Regions from separate parts of the Homo sapiens genome. Here all the other regions are linked to region 2. The links are contacts of gene promoters, found by promoter capture Hi-C in blood cells and fetal thymus (Javierre and others, 2016). All regions are on one chromosome and are shown on one strand. The core of a region is centred on a gene start or on the middle of the fragment in contact, and the rest is flanking DNA. Distances in the headings are between cores, read along the strand shown.

Region 1 (3,898 bases), core at 438-2,937, 320 kb after region 2:
TTTTAAAATGAAAATCACATCTATCACTTCGTGGCTTAAAACCCACCAGTACCTTCCATTTCTACTTAAAATCCAAACTCCTAAACTATGGCCTACAAAGGCCACACAGTCTGGTCCTATCTACCTCTCCCAATGTCATTTCTCAACTCTCTCCTACTTCTACAGGGCACTTTAGATACATTGGCATTTTAAATGTTCTTTAAACAAGCTCTTTCCCATCTTTGCAGTTCTTTCTGCCTGCCTTGTCTTTTCCTTGGCTAATCACAAGGCTGGTTCTTTATCATCATCAAGGTTTCAGCACAAATGTAACTCCTACAAGGGCCCAACGACCAACTAAGTTAAAGTTACTCCCAAACATCTCCCAATCATTTGTCATCCCTCTTCAAGTTTTTTCTTCATAGAATCTATCATCAAAATTGATTATTTACTTGCTTTTTATTTTCTCCCACTAGGATATAAAGTCAACCGAAGCAGGGGCCTTATCTGTCTTATATGTAACAGTATCTCTGGCATCTAAAACAGTATTAGGCAAATAGTAAATGGCACAATAAATATTTGAATGATGAAAAATAAGTAAACTGCTCCTCTTGAATTTGCAATTTGAATTAATGGTGTCTCATTGTTAGCAGCCAATATTCTAAAACTTGACTTTCCACTCCATGCCCCTGTAACAAGTCCTGTTGATTTTCTGTCTTTGGAACCTGACTCTCTCTACCTCTTTCTCTTTTTCAGGCCATAGACTCTCCAACTCCTGCAACTGTCTGGAATTTCTTCTCTCTCCAATCCATCTCTAGTATTGATGACATAGGTAACTTTCCACAAGTCACACCATACCAAGTGCTTTACATCACCTGTTTACGTACTTATCAAATGGCAATATAGATTACAGATATATATATAAACACACACGTATATATCGGGTATGTCTACTTGGTATTTTAGGGGAAAAAACGGGTGCTGATACATAGATGGAAGACATTTTCTGATTCCAATTTGGGAAAAATAGTCTATCTTTGGTCAGGTCTTTTTTTTAATAGCTTTACTGAGGCGGTTTTCTAATTTTAAATAATCAAGCATACACAACAAACAGTGTAATGACTAAGGTTCTTGGCATACCATAGGAAACCATAACCCGGCTCCAACCCACACTGCCATTCTCATCTCTACAGTCTCATTCCCGCTTGCGTTCTCATCACCCAGCACATTACGTCAGGGTATGTTTAACACTCAAAAATCCACAAGTCTGTTCTTGACATGAATGAGAATCTCATTTCTTTCAAAATGCTATAGTCTCTAGTTACAGAAGGAGCCTGATCAAAACAACCACCAAAAGTCTTCCACTCACAGCAGTTCGGAGCCGAAAAGTTGCGGAAATGAGGCCCAGCAACGGTCCCTGGCTTTGATTTGCCAAAATGCTCTGGAAGCCGCAGCGTCGGCGCCTGCCCACCACTGCTTCTTCAGGGGTTTCTTCAGTTTGACAAATTACCAGCGAGTGATATTTCTTGGTGAAAGAAAAAAATCACAACCCTAGAGGAATAAGGTGGCAGGGAGAGTGTTTTGGCCAAGATGCCCGCCACGAAACAGGAAAGCGGAGACAGCGCCAACTGTAACCACTAAGAGAAAGCGCAAACCGCACAAGACCAGTTCAAAACCAGCGCCCTCAGGGAGCCGCTTCAGAGCTCCGCAACAGGGAAGACAGGAAGTCCCGCCCCTCCACAACAGGAAGGGCCGGAAGTCCCGCCCCTCCACTCCGGAGGCTGCCCTCGCTGCGTTCCCTACGAAGGGCGGAGCAGGAATTGGTGTAGGAAGGGGACGGGTGTTTCCTTGTTCGGAATGGGGTTGGCTCCTCTTTGATTTTTTACTTCTGGTGACCCACGCAAAAGCAGTCCCGACCTGGTTGTATTAATAATAAAGGCTGTAAGGATCAGCCTTTTGAACGGTCCAGCCGAGAACTAACCACAGAGCGCGTTTTAGTGGAGTGGTACTTATTTTTAAATAAGGTAAAAAACGATTATACTTCAGTAAAGCTGTTTAGAAAAAAAAAAACTTGGCCAAAGATGGAGAACTCTTCCTAATTTGGTATCAGAAAATAGGTCGTCTATGTATCTGCACCTTTTTTCCTTATAAAGTGGCAAATAAATGTGTCTGCTATATTTATTGCCACTAAACAAGTGTTTATGGAACACTCACTGTGTGTTTAGGCATAGTGGGGATAAAGCAGGGAAGGTGGCCCAGTTCTTTGCGGGTGAGGATCAGAGCTAGAGATTAACTGGAAAGAAAGAATAAACAATCATTTATTACAGTTGTGAGTGTTTCTAAGATAAAATACAGAGGTTTGTGAGAGCATAGAGAGGCATACCTTGTTTTATTGTGCATTTTATTGTGCTTTGCAGATACTGAGTTTACTACAAATGGAAGGTTTGAGGCAACCTTGATGGAGCAAGTGTATGGGTGCCATGTTTTTCCAACATCATGTGCTCACTTTGTGTCTCTGACATATTTTGGTAATTCCCACAATATTTCAAACTTTTTCATTATTTTTGTATCTGTTAGAGTGATCTGTGTGATCACTGATCTTTGATGTCACTACTGTAATTGTTTTGGGGGACCACAGATCATGCTCATACATTATAAAATGGCGAACTGAATCTGTTACAGGTAGTTAGGCATGAGCAAGGCAGGAGAGGGCTCTCCCCTGCCACCCACCCACTAGAAATGTTGGGTGATGGTTCAGCAATTATCACATGGCCTCTCTAAAAATGAAAATTTGGCAGCGCCAGGGAAAGGCCATTTCCTGATGGCCCACACCTGTTAACATCAAAATGTTAATTGAATGCAGGCCCCAGAGAGAAGCAACTTCCTGGGCATGCCGGTTAAGAGACAAAAGTGATGAAGTATGATTTTTCTGATACACTCCACCGGAAAAAGGAAGAAAGCCTCAGATGGGCATGTGTATAAATCCATAAAATCACTGTGTGTGCTCACTTCCCAAGGGTAAAGAGGGCTCTGAGCATGCAGGGAGCCCATCCTAAGATCATGGTTAAATGCGGCACTTGACCTTCTCTCTCTCTCTCTCCTTTTCTTTTTCTTTTTTTTTTGAGACGGAGTCTCACTCTGTCGCCCAGGCTGCAGTGCAGTGGCGCGATTTCAGCTCACTGCAATCTCCGCCTCCCGGGTTCAAGCAATTCTCTGCCTCAGCCCCCTCCCCGAGTAGCTGGGATTACAGGCGCCCACCACCATACCCGGCTAATTTTTTTGTATTTTTAGTAGAGACAGGGTTTCACCATCTTGGCCAGGCTGGTCTTGAACTCCTGACCTCATGATCCACCTGCTTCAGCCTCCCAAAGTTCTGGGATTATAGGCGTGAGCCACTGCACCCGGCTGGCCTTCTCTCTTTAACCTTCACATGCCCACTTGGGTCTCTTCCATGCGTACCTTCCTTTCTTTCCTGTTCTAATGCCTGTTTAAATAAACCTCCATTCCTACTCTGGAACTTGCTTCAGTCTCTTTTCTGCTTTATGTCTGTCAGTCAAATTCTTTCTTCTCTGAGGAGGCCAGGACTGAAGTTGCTATGGACCTGCAAGGATAGGCTGCTGGTAACTTGGGGTAACTCAGATCTCTTCCACTAGTAACAAGTCGATTGATATATATTGTGTGTGTCTGGCTGCTGTATTCACTGGCCACTCTCATCTCTCACCCTCTCCTAGAGCCTTCCTATTCCTTGAGACACAACAATATCAAAATTAGGCAAAGTAATACCCCTACAGTGGCTTCTAAGTGTCCAAGTAAAAGAGGGTTGTATGTCTCTCACTTTAAATCATAACCTAGAAATGCATGATTAAGCCTGTAAGGAAGGCATGTTGAAAGCTAAGATAGGCTGAAAGCTAAGCCTCTTGTG
Region 2 (3,615 bases), core at 93-2,592:
TTGTTTCAGGTTCTTTCAATTTTCTTTCCAATCTCAACCGTCAGTGCACGGAGCTGTCCAAGGTTTTTATTTCTTGCCCTTCCCGTTCCTGACCCCTTTAATCATCACACAAACAGGCAGCAGAGACAAAGTAATGAAGAACACCAACTCTGGAGTCAAACAAACTGGGTTAGAGTCCCAGAGCCAGCATTCAACAGTTGTGTGATCTCGATCAAATCCTGTAACCTCTCTGGGCTTCAGTTTCTTCATCTATCAAAACAAGGATGACAGTAACAGTACCTAACCCATAGATTATCATGAGGATTTAATCAGTTACTCTTTGTAAAAGAGTTTATTACAATGCCTGGCAAATAGCAAAAAAGGAATTTTGGGGTTCCCTAGTTTCTACCATAAAAGAATTGTAGACATGGGTTATGTTGCTACTTAACAGTTTTGCTCTTGTAAATATTGCTCTGGCAATCAATACAGGATGGAGAGCAGGAGGAAGTAGAAAGAATGCTCGCAGAACTATGACTTAGGGTGTCTAGTCCTGGCTCTGCCATTAATCAGTTGTGTGACCCTTGCTAAGTTAACTGACCCCTCTGAACTCAGTTTTTTTTTTCTCTCTCTGTAAAAGGAAGGGCTTAAACTTCAGTAAATAACCGGTATGTTTTATTTAGTATTTTGCGAATCCCATTTCCAACTCTACGTTCAATCCAGTGACGGTATTTCTAGTTTATAAACTAGAAAAATAATCTTTGGCATCTGAGGGTCACAGCCGAGAGTATCTCCCTAGCAGGAGATTAGGGAGCCAGTGACAAAGTGGCACCAGGGGAACCGATGTATGCCAGGAATCCAGACAGAGGGTGACATTAGCACTTCTTTCTGCAGAACCTAAACCCTGCCCGACTCACCCGGAGGAGCTGTCACGGTGGTTTGCTGGAAACCCCCTTTCTGTTGGGAGGATTACTGGGTCACGGTTTCCCAAGGACATGGAAACCCTTGCTGAAGCGCTGGAACCGCTCGGCACGAGGCGTACGTCGGTGGGAGCTGTGTCAGCCCGCTTTCGGCCGTGTAGCTGCTCCCATCCAGACTCTAGAAGGGGTCCTCTTTGCGTCAGGCCCAATCACCCCCCTCCCCGAGCGACTGCACTGGGTGTCCCTGCGCCGCGCGTCCCCTCCCTCTCGCCCCTCCCTCCTGGCTGCCATAGAAACCAGCTTACAAGGTCCAGGCCGGCGTCCGGGTGCACTACAGGCCCCCCGTCCCTCCTTCCCCACGCCAGCCCCTCGCTCCGGATTGGTCCTTCAGGAAACGCTGTGGGGCGTCTCGGTCCCCGCTGCGGAGCCGGCCTAGGCCGGAGGGCGGGGTTTGCCCTGGGCCGCTGCCGGTCAGGTCGGCCGCCCCTGACAGCTCCGGGAGCCTCAAGCGCGACAGCGGCGCCCTCACCTCGGGACATCCACACACCGACCGCTCCTGCTCCAGAGGCAACAACCCAGCGCGCCTAGCCTGGCGCCGTGCAGCGAAGCCCAAGAGCTGGCCTCGCCACGAAGGTAAGCGAGGGGCTGGGGGACTCGCCGCCAGCACCCCCACCCCGCCACCCTTCCTCTGCTAGGCTGCAGACCTGGGTGGCTGAGGAGGAGGCGCCTCTCCTCCCCGCGACCCAAGGAAGAAAGGAAGCCCTGCCACGGGGTGTCTGCGAAGTGGGGTCAGAAGAAGGTTAGGCGCTTTCTGGGGCGTACCCCCACACCTGCCCAGGCCGATCCGCAAGCGAGAGGAGGGGGCATTAGAGCCAGGGCGAGAGCGTGCTCGCGCGTGTGTGCCCGTGTCATGTGTGGTGCCCGTGTCATGTGCGGCGCCCATGTCTATGTGCGCGCGTGTGTGCACCCATGTCTCTGTATGGTGTGGACACTCGTGTCTGCGTGCGCGTCCACACGTGAGCCGAGGAGCGCAGCTTAGCGCCTAGCGTTGCGCACAGCGGGTGCGCTGGACCAGAGCCCTAAGGCACCAGACCAAATCTGGAGCGTTTGTTACAAGGGCAGAAGACCGGCGTGATCTCCCCACGCGCGCCGGCCGGTGCTGCTGGTGGAGAGAACTGACATCTAACGCATGTGGCCCAGGAGAACAAAACCTTCCATTGCACCCCACGCCGCGACTCTCCCCAGCGAAAGGTGCTTCTTTTGGAAGACCGCACGAAGTAAGGAAGAGCCTCTTTTCCTCTTCCTGGATATCCCTCCAGGAATATTAGAAGCTCCAGGACTCCTTGATACGACCAGGAAAAGATCGCAACCGGGTCTTTAAAATATCGATTCCAGCCAGCTTCTGCGTGCTTGACACATCTTGGCAGATGGAGAAGTCAAGGCAATAGATAACATGGGCAGCAAAGATTCTGCTATAGCACTTCTTTCCTTTCTGTTTTTTCCTTCCCTCCTTCCCTCCTTTTCCCTCTTCTCCCTCCCTCCTTTCCTCCTCCTCCTCTCCCCTTCTCTTCTCCTCCTCCCTCCCTCCCTTTCTCCCTTTCTCCTCTCTTTTCCCCTTCCCTCCCCTGTTTTCGTCCTCCTGAGTACAGTAGACAAGAGGGCTCTCTGTCTACCCCCCCTCCCCCACCCCATTCCTCATCCCGTTTCAAAATAAGAGCGAATGAATCACATTCTAAGCTCTTACCCGTGCAGTTCTGACAAGTTTGGAAATTACACAAATCGCGTTTGCAATTGAGGCCGCGGGAATCCAAAAGGGAAACAAACGAAACCAGATGAAAAAAAGTGATTCCAAGTCAAGATTTCAAATGGAAATCTAAGGTGAATATTTGTTTATGGTAATAAGATTTTTTTTAATGTTTGAAAAGTATGTATCACACTAGCTTGCATCATCAGTATTCAATGTGATTCACAGAACCGCTTCAAAAGATGGTTTCTGTTAGTGTTGCAACAGCACTTCTAATTCTGGTTGTCATGGTTACTGAAGAAGTCGCCCTGCTCTATTGAGAGGCTGTCTAGTTAGAAGCAGGAACTGTTCTCCAGAGGACCTTCTCTTGTACCCTCGTTGTCACCATGGTAATAATTGAGTTTATGAAAATGTACTTACTTTTTCCCTTAAAGTACTAAAATCCCAAGGCATGTTGTTGTTTTTTTTATTTTATTTTTTCAGAGTTTGCAGTCCATGCAACACAGCTTTCCGCTCAGACAAATGAGAGTAAACACTGCCCTCCAGCAAGTTAAATGGCCCCAAATAGTCATGCTGCCCAGCTCTCTTCCCACAGCTCACTGCACGAACAGAGGACAGAGGAGGGTGTTAGATGTTCCACGAATCCTGGCCTGAGCCCAGATCGCCCTCGCCATTTAGCATTTACATTTGGAAGCCTAATTAGCTTTCTAATTAGGAGATGGGAGAATGTAGGGGGGGATTCCTGCGAGAGGCTAGTGGGGAAAAAGCTGAATCCAACTCCCCATGGACTGGTGTTTGGTGTGCCATTGAATTTGCCTAGTAAACCCTCATGGGTTTATTTTTAGCTGGACCACTGTTAAATGGTAAGCCTGGAAAAACCTTCAGAGAAGCCTCCTTCTGTGTTAGGAAAAAATGTGGATTGGATATTTGGTTTGAGGTGTGTGCTTTTTTTCTAACTACATTTAAAATAAAGAC
Region 3 (3,669 bases), core at 1,088-3,587, 280 kb before region 2:
TTTAGCATATAATCAAGAAATAGCCATAAAATAGCCAGCTAGCTGCCCTGTCCCTTGGTGCTACCCTGACTACGGGGGTAGCCTTCTTTTTGTTTCCTTAATACACTTGCTTTCACATTACTCTTTTGGCTTGCTCTTGAATTCTTTCTGGTACAAGCAAAGTATCCACTTGGCTTCCCTGGCTGAATGCCAATTCTGGGGGTATCCTTGCATCAACAGCACCACTGCCTTCAACCAATGCCCTGGAAGGAGCTCCTCACACCCCAGTGGGGACCCTCATGATGTTATTGTAAACTTGCTTGGGACTCTGCCTTCTAGATAGAGGCAACAGGAGCAAGAAGTTTCTATGTTGGAGATCATTCCTTGTTTAGTTCTTCCTCTCCAAAGTACTAGGAGCAAGAAGTCTATGATGGAGATCATTCCTTATTTAGTTCTTCTTCTCCAAAGTACCTCAAAGATTTCCAAATTATAAAAACTATCTTTGTGTAATCAAGAATATGCTAAGGAACTTTACTTCTAGATAGACTCAGAATTCATGGTAGATGGTAAATTTTGTTATATGTATTTTACCACAATAAAAATAAATAGAAAATAAAAGACAAGAAGGAAATGAAAGAATTGAGTGACTACCACTGCCCTGCTTCTCACTAACATCCCAAGTTGTCTTTGAGGACACACCTCTCCTCAAGCTTTTCTCTGCCTGGAGAACAAGATTGCAGTCTCTGCTCCAGGACTAGCAATGTGGTTTGGGGCAATAATAAACTATTAACCAGGGTTCCTCAAAAGAGCTTTCCCTCCACAGGTTAAGGAGTACCTTTTCTTTTTATCACTTAAACCACCCTATCACAGATTGAGTTTCGTCTAAGATGTTAGGGTTTTATGTTAATACCAGTAATTCCATCTTCTGTTACAATTTGCTTCTAGAATTAATATCACCACTATGCTTCCTATGATCTGATTAGGACCAGGCACTTGGCCAGAAAAGTGTAAAAACTCAAAAGCTGATGTCTCCTGCTGTGAGACTGGATGAAACACCTTTTCCCTTGTGTTCAGGAGCCCTTGGATTACACAATTCCATATTGCTTTCAGATTGGCCAGCCCAGAGGAAATCTTAGCAGATAATCTAACCTGGGTGTTGCACACAGAGGCCACCCTGAGGGAGCCAAAGCCAGGGCTGCATTCATAGTCCCTTTATCCCCTAGACCTTCAAAAGGTTTCAAATTGAAATCACGATCATGTCATCTAAGATAACAATTAATTTCTCTTTACAATTAATTGCCATTCAGGGATGTTGTGGTTTGAATATTTGTCCCTTCTGAAACTCATGTTGAAACTTAATCCCCAATGTAGCAATATTGAGAGGTAGGGCCTTTAAGCAGTGATTGGGTCTTGAGGGCTCTGCCCGTTTGATGTCTTAATCCATTTATGGATTAACGGTTAATTGGTTAATGGAATAATGGGTTATCAGAGGATTGGGATTGTGGTTTTATTTTTTTTTAAGTAGATTTTGAGACTTCAGAACAGAAAATGAGGATGATAAGATGGGAAGCCCCCTCCATATCCAAACCACAAAAACACTCTAACTCATCTTTCACCATCTGCTTATTTTTTATGACATGGATAATTGACATGTAATTAGTCTAATAATGAGTGCAAAGCAAACACAGCTCTAGTTCCACGTTCCAATAAGATGCAACATCTAAGCTTCTCTATACTGATACTTAGAACTGCCACTATGTGAAAAGATTGATGTAATCACAGCTAGACTAGATTAATGCTGTCATCTAGTTTATGGGTTTTGATTTCTAACATTTGAGGGGACAGAAAAGTGTAAAAGTCCCAAGTGTATTCTCTACTGCATGTTTTTCATCTCTGCCCAAGGATTTTGGTGTAAAGGCTGGAAACCTTTACACCAAATCTTTACACTAAAGTTGTGAAGACACATAAATCTTTCTCCTGGGATGCCCACAAGAAGGAATGAGTCTTAGTTGCTGCAGGACCTGAGATGGGCAGAGATTATGAGAGCCTCCCATACACTTGGTGTTCTGCACTGAATTGTGTTCCCCCAAAATTCATGATAATTTTGATTAACTAATCTCCAAGTGATGGTATTTGGAGATGGGGCCTTTGGGAGACAATTAAGTTTAGATGAGGTCATGAGGGTTGGGGTTTCATAATGGGATTAGTGCCCTTATGAGAAGAGGAAGAGATACCAGGTCCCTCTCCTTCTCTCCCTTTCTTCTCTTGCCCCTCTACCCACTTCTCTCTCTCCTTCTGTGCCATGTGAGAACACAGCTACAACATGGCCATTGGCATGACAGGAAGACAGCCCTCACCAGGAGCTGAATCACTGGCGCTTTCATCTTGGACTTCCAGATCCTGGGCAAGACTCACCAAGGCAGACATCTGTAGCTGCCTGGAATTGTCTGATCTGGAGTTGATGCTCTGGAACCCTGTGGTTGTTAACTCAGAAGGCACAAGGCTAGGGATCTTCTTTCAGTCCCCGTTAGTCTATCCCCACTCTTCATTTTCTCTTTTGTTTTTCAAGTAATGAATTTATTTTTCCAATTAATGTAGCCAGCTCATGGTACAGCATATTAAAGCATAAAGTACAAATCCAAGGAAGGTAATACCTTTACTATGTTATAAAACTTTGACAAATCAATATATTACTTTTTATTATAATAAAAGCATATGTTTCTGGGAGTCATATACTACTTTAGGGATAATTTTTACTCCAAAAATATTCAAGTACTAAACCAAAACACTGGTTTTTAATGGTGGTTTATAGCAGAGCAAGTTATTTTATACACATTAATATCATTTAAAACTGAGCAATTTCTCCTTTTAAAGTGAAGTTCCTTATGCAAGCTGTTGAAGTTTATGGCAGCAGGGCAATTGTGTGTATATAAGAGGTGGCTCTGCTTTGTTCTGAAGTTCCACCAAAGTCAGGTAGTGTTCCCAGGTGTTAAAAGCTTTAAAATTCTACCTCAAAATGATTCAATGTCAATGCAAACTGCCAAGTACTTTTTGAAAAATTTTTAAATTTTCACATAAATACTGGAACTCTCAAAATTAGACAATCATTTCAAACAACACTTATTTTAGATGATCCCTTTTATTTAGACACCCTGAACCTCTTTGTTTTTATTCCATGTCACAAAGTCTTCTATCAGTCTATTTTTTAAAAATTCTACCTAAGATACGGTTTTAAAATAACAGATTGCAAGGTTGGAGACACCTGGGGTACTTGATGTCTTCCAACATCCATTATCATTTCTCTGTAAATGATGCTGCTACTATCCGAGTTCTTATGCTTCCTCTTTTTGAAGCCAGCAATTTCTCAATCTTAACATGTAGTTTAAGTATTACCCATTCCAGTGCTTCTCAGCCTTTATTAGCATTTGAAGATATTGTACTTGTCTTCAGTTCTTCAAGGTAACTGCTGAGGCTGATTCTTTTCACAATGATTGTGGTTTCTTGAGTCAAAATAGTTTTTTTTCTGGGTCCTGAAGACTATGTTTTGGCTCTTGCTGCAACAGTAAGGGACTTGCAGTTCCCACTCTGTGCAGAGAAGTCTGTGGCCTTGCAACTTTCCAGAGGGATCTATATATCCTTCCAACACATCAACCCACACCCTGCTCAGGTTCGCAGGGCTTGGGTATTTGT
Region 4 (3,971 bases), core at 1,345-3,844, 370 kb after region 2:
GGGCCTCATGGAGGAGGAGGGCGGCGGGCCCCGGCTCGGCTGCTCGGTGCTTCTGGCGGAGCGGACGGCAGCCCGAGCACCCGCCGCTCCAGAGCGCCCGCCCCGCTCGGCTACCCTCGGCTTTCCAGTTCTCCCCCAAAACCCGGCTCCCCGCCTTCGGCGCGGCAGGGGCGCAGGCGGGTCACAGCGGCCCCCTGCGGCCCGGAGGCCCGGGACGCGCCCGCGAGGATCCTCCAGTTCGCGGCTGGCCGGCCGCCGGGCCCAGCAGGCCGCCCGCCGAGTGGCGTCTTGGCCACCTGCCGGCCCGCAGCCAGGCTCGGGCAGGGGCATCTCGGTTCCGGGGCCAGGCTGGGGGGGATGAGGGATGAGGGGTGAGGGGGACGCTTACCACAGGCAGGCCCGACCTACTCGGTAGTTCTCAGGAGAGACGTGCGAGACCGACAGTTGACGCCCGGGAAATAAAAACACGGGGGGAGGGGGCGTGGACCCTGCGCCAGGGTTCGCTGGCGCACAGGTGTGTTCAATGACTCGGCTCCGGCCGAGACCCGCGGACTGCTGAGGAGTGGTCCCTGGGAGACTGTCACCTGCTCCGTTAGCATCGGGGGAAGGGAGTAGAAACGGAATCAAAATATGTGTCCCCTCTTTAATTCACCCTAGGTGTTTACCACAGTAGGTCACACCTACGTTTAACAAGCTTCGTTCTCTTCCCGTTAACCTTCCCCTCCAGAAATTTCAAGAAAATGTGCTACCTTTCAGTGTAACTCTGCCCTCTTTTTCATCTTGCATCAGTGCTGTCCAATGAAAATATAATGCGAGCCACAAATGCAAGCCACTTATGTAATTTTACATTTTGGAGAAGCCACATTAAATGAGTGAAAAGAAACAGGTGTGGCCAGGCGCAGTGGCTCACGCCTGTAATCCCAGCACTTTGGGAGGCCGAGGGGGGCGGATCACCTGAGGTCGGGAGTTCGAGACCAGCCAGACCAACATGGAGAAACCCCGTCTCTACTAAAAATACAAAGTTAGCCGGGCGTGGTGGCACATGCCTGTAATCCTAGCTATTCTGGAGGCTGAGGCAGGAGAATCGCTTGAACGCAGGAGGCAGAGGTTGCAGTGAGCCGAGATCGTACCGTTGCACTCCAGCCTGGGCAACAAGAGCCAAACTCTGTCTCAAAAAACAAAACAAAACAAAACAAAAACCAGGTGAAATTAATTTAAATTTATTTAATCCATTATGTTCAAAATGGTTTTTTAACATGCGATTTAAAATATTAAATATTTTCTCTGTTTTTTAGATACTAGTTGAAATCCAGTGTATATTTTACACTTATGGCACATCTTAGTCGGGATTGGCACATTTCAAGGGCTCAAGAGCCACATGTGGCTAGTGGCTACTGCGTTGCACAGCACAATTCTAGATTTTATTAATATGTAAATTGTTGTTTTTGTCAGGCCTGACAGTATTAATGCCAAATAAAGGATAGATGAATATAAGTAACGACAAGGAAGGAAAAATTGATTTCTTTACTGTTGGATTGATCCATCTCCATAAATTCTGATTTTAGCCTTTTGTTTTAAGCAGGGTTTCATGTTTTTCTATCTTTTCATCTTAAGAATCATTTCAATTAGGGACACAAACTCTTGTTAACCGTTTTCTCTTCTCATTAATAAAGAAAACAATGTCTTCCCCTAAACGAATGAGAAAATGGCTTCACCGAGGGCAATCATGAATAAATGGTTCATGCTATTGATGTTAGGCAAAATAATGAAGTCAGGGAAGGAAGCCAGCAGTACGTGTGGCTCTTCGGTGTACGGAAAGTTTAGGATTCAGTCTGCCAGAGCTTAGTTGGGATTCCACTCTTGACTATTGCTGTCTGTGTGATTTTGAGTAAGTAAGGGGTTTAGCTTCTCTGAGCCTCACTTTCCTCATCTGTAAAATAATAACTGTGTGGTAACACTCAGCATATATTGCAGAGACAAGATTACAATTTAAAAATTACAATTTTAATATTTTCAAATTCATTATTGTATGTGGTCACCAGTCACTTCTTGCCTGGACTTTTTTATCATACAGGAAAGACCCATAAACTATGCTAAAAAACTAACAATGAGTTATGTTCCACTGAAGTAGATGCCCCAACTCTGCCCCAAGCTTTTGTTTGCACTCACCACCTTTTCATTTCCCCTTAAAACTTTTATGATGAACAGCACCTTTTCTAACAACTGGGACTTTCCCATGTGAAGATAAGGCCATTCTGCATCCATGGTGATGTCACGACATCTTCACACCCTCTTGTTAGGAAAATTAGGTAAGATATCCTTTGCCTTCTCTGTATTTGTTACTGTATAACTTTTGCCCTATTCTTATAATGTGTGGATGGTGGACTTGGAGATAACACGAATGGATTTTGCATCATGATAATAAAAATATCTAATATTTATTATGCGTCAGTCACCTTTTAAGAGCTTTTATTTTATCATTTTATTTTATCCTCATATCCTGTGAGATAGACATTCCAATATTTTCACTTTACATAAAAGGTGCCAAGATACCGCAAGGGCTCAGATCCATCTTGGGACTGTTTTAGAGCTAACTGGCAGGTATTGCAAAATGCATAGACAGAAACACATGAACGTGTGAACACCATGTGGAACTCCCTAAAGAGAATCATCAAAGTGCTCCTCATCCACGTGTATGCCTTTTTTATTAATTTATGGTGAAAGGAGAGTAGAACTAAATTTGGACAAATTGGAAAATATGTTGTAATATGGAAAAGGACCTGCTGTGAACTATGAAAAAAATGTTTCCTTAAACTGTACTTGAAAGGCATTCTCCAGTAAGACTTCCCAAGCTGCCTAATCTTAGATTCTCTCCCTTGTGATAAGTATACCCTGGGAAAACTGTCTTGGTACTTAGCATGCCAGATTGTTATCGTTAGTATTTGGTTTATTTAAATGTCTCCTTCCCTAAACTAGCCCTCTGAAGACAGAGGATGCCTTTTAATCCTTTAGGTCCAACCCAGTACTTAGTCCATAATAAGCTTTTAACAGAAATAGGACTCACCTGCAATGGTCCTGCCTTTCCTTAGGTCACCAGTCTAGTGATGGTAAAAAAAAAAAAAAAAAAAAAAAGACTGTTTTTTTAGAACTTATTGACCTCAGGATCATCATTAGACCTTATGGGAGTAGACAGTACAGCCTTCAAGGCCAGCTAACAGGAGAAAATTTTCATAAATATGCAAGAGGAAATATTTGCAAACCACATGGTATAGTTTGTATATTTGACCCTCCAAGCCTCCTGTTGAAACTTGATCCTGAATGTTGGAGGTGGGGCCTAATGGAAGGCGTTTGGGTCATGGTGGCAGATTCCTCATGAATGGCATGGTGCCATTCTCACAGTAACGAATGAGTTATGGTTTTACTAGTTCCCAAGGAGTTTCCCCAAGAGCTGGTTGTTGAAAAGAGCCTGGCACACTCCCCCTGTCTCATGCTTCCTCTCTTGCCATGTAATCTCTGCACACTGTCTCCCCTTCACTTTCTGCCATGCATAGAAGCAGGCTGAAGCCCTCACCAGAAGCAGATGTTGGTGCCATGCTTCTAGTACAGCCTGCAGAATAGTGAGCCAAATGAAACCCTTTTCTTTATAAATTACCCAGCCTCAGCTATTCCTTTATAGCAACAAAAATGGATGAAGGCACCACATATTTGACAAAAGACTTGTATCTAGAATATATAAAGTACTCTCAGAACTCAACTGTATTGAGAGTACTATAGCCAGGTGCGATCCCAGCACTATGGGAGGCTGAGGCGGACAGATTACCTGAGGTCAGGAGTTCGAGACCAACCTGGACAACATGTGAAACCCCGTCTCTACTAAAAATACAAAAATTAGCAGGCATGGTGATGCGTGCTTGTAATCCCAGCTACTTGGGAGGCTGAGGCAGGGGAATCGCTTGAACCCGGGAGGCAGA

The links. The method cuts DNA at HindIII sites, captures the fragments that hold promoters and counts their contacts. A CHiCAGO score of 5 or more calls a contact.
Region 1: the fragment with the promoter of C5orf34 here is called in contact with the fragment with the promoter of NIM1K in region 2 in 12 of 17 cell types (erythroblasts, M1 macrophages, monocytes and 9 more); the score reaches 11.6 in erythroblasts.
Region 3: a contact is called between a fragment that was not itself captured here and the fragment with the promoter of NIM1K in region 2, in 2 of 17 cell types (monocytes and activated CD4 T cells). The highest score is 5.5, in monocytes.
Region 4: a fragment that was not itself captured here is called in contact with the fragment with the promoter of NIM1K in region 2 in 1 of 17 cell types (monocytes); the score reaches 5.3 in monocytes.

What each region holds. Positions count from the first base shown.
Region 1 is chr5:43,513,461-43,517,358 of GRCh38, forward strand. C5orf34 (chromosome 5 open reading frame 34) reads right to left here and starts at 1,688. Exons shown (of 13, transcript NM_198566.4): 1 at 1,346-1,688. LOC124900190 (a long non-coding RNA gene) reads left to right here. Exons shown (of 3, transcript XR_007058764.1): 2 at 733-3,898. RefSeq lists an enhancer at 1,296-1,455. The HindIII fragment of the contact is 8,167 bases long and covers 1-3,898 here.
Region 2 is chr5:43,190,883-43,194,497 of GRCh38, forward strand. It overlaps NIM1K (NIM1 serine/threonine protein kinase), which reads left to right and starts at 1,343. Exons shown (of 4, transcript NM_153361.4): 1 at 1,343-1,529. RefSeq lists a silencer at 1,184-1,323 and an enhancer at 1,659-2,368. The HindIII fragment of the contact is 11,127 bases long and covers 1-3,615 here.
Region 3 is chr5:42,904,932-42,908,600 of GRCh38, forward strand. It overlaps the pseudogene PRELID3BP5. Among named protein-coding and RNA genes, the nearest start is that of FLJ32255, 87 kb to the right of the region's middle. RefSeq lists an enhancer at 3,598-3,647. The HindIII fragment of the contact is 1,271 bases long and covers 1,703-2,973 here.
Region 4 is chr5:43,556,952-43,560,922 of GRCh38, forward strand. PAIP1 (poly(A) binding protein interacting protein 1) reads right to left here and starts at 126. Exons shown (of 11, transcript NM_006451.5): 1 at 1-126. RefSeq lists a silencer at 1-421. The HindIII fragment of the contact is 889 bases long and covers 2,151-3,039 here.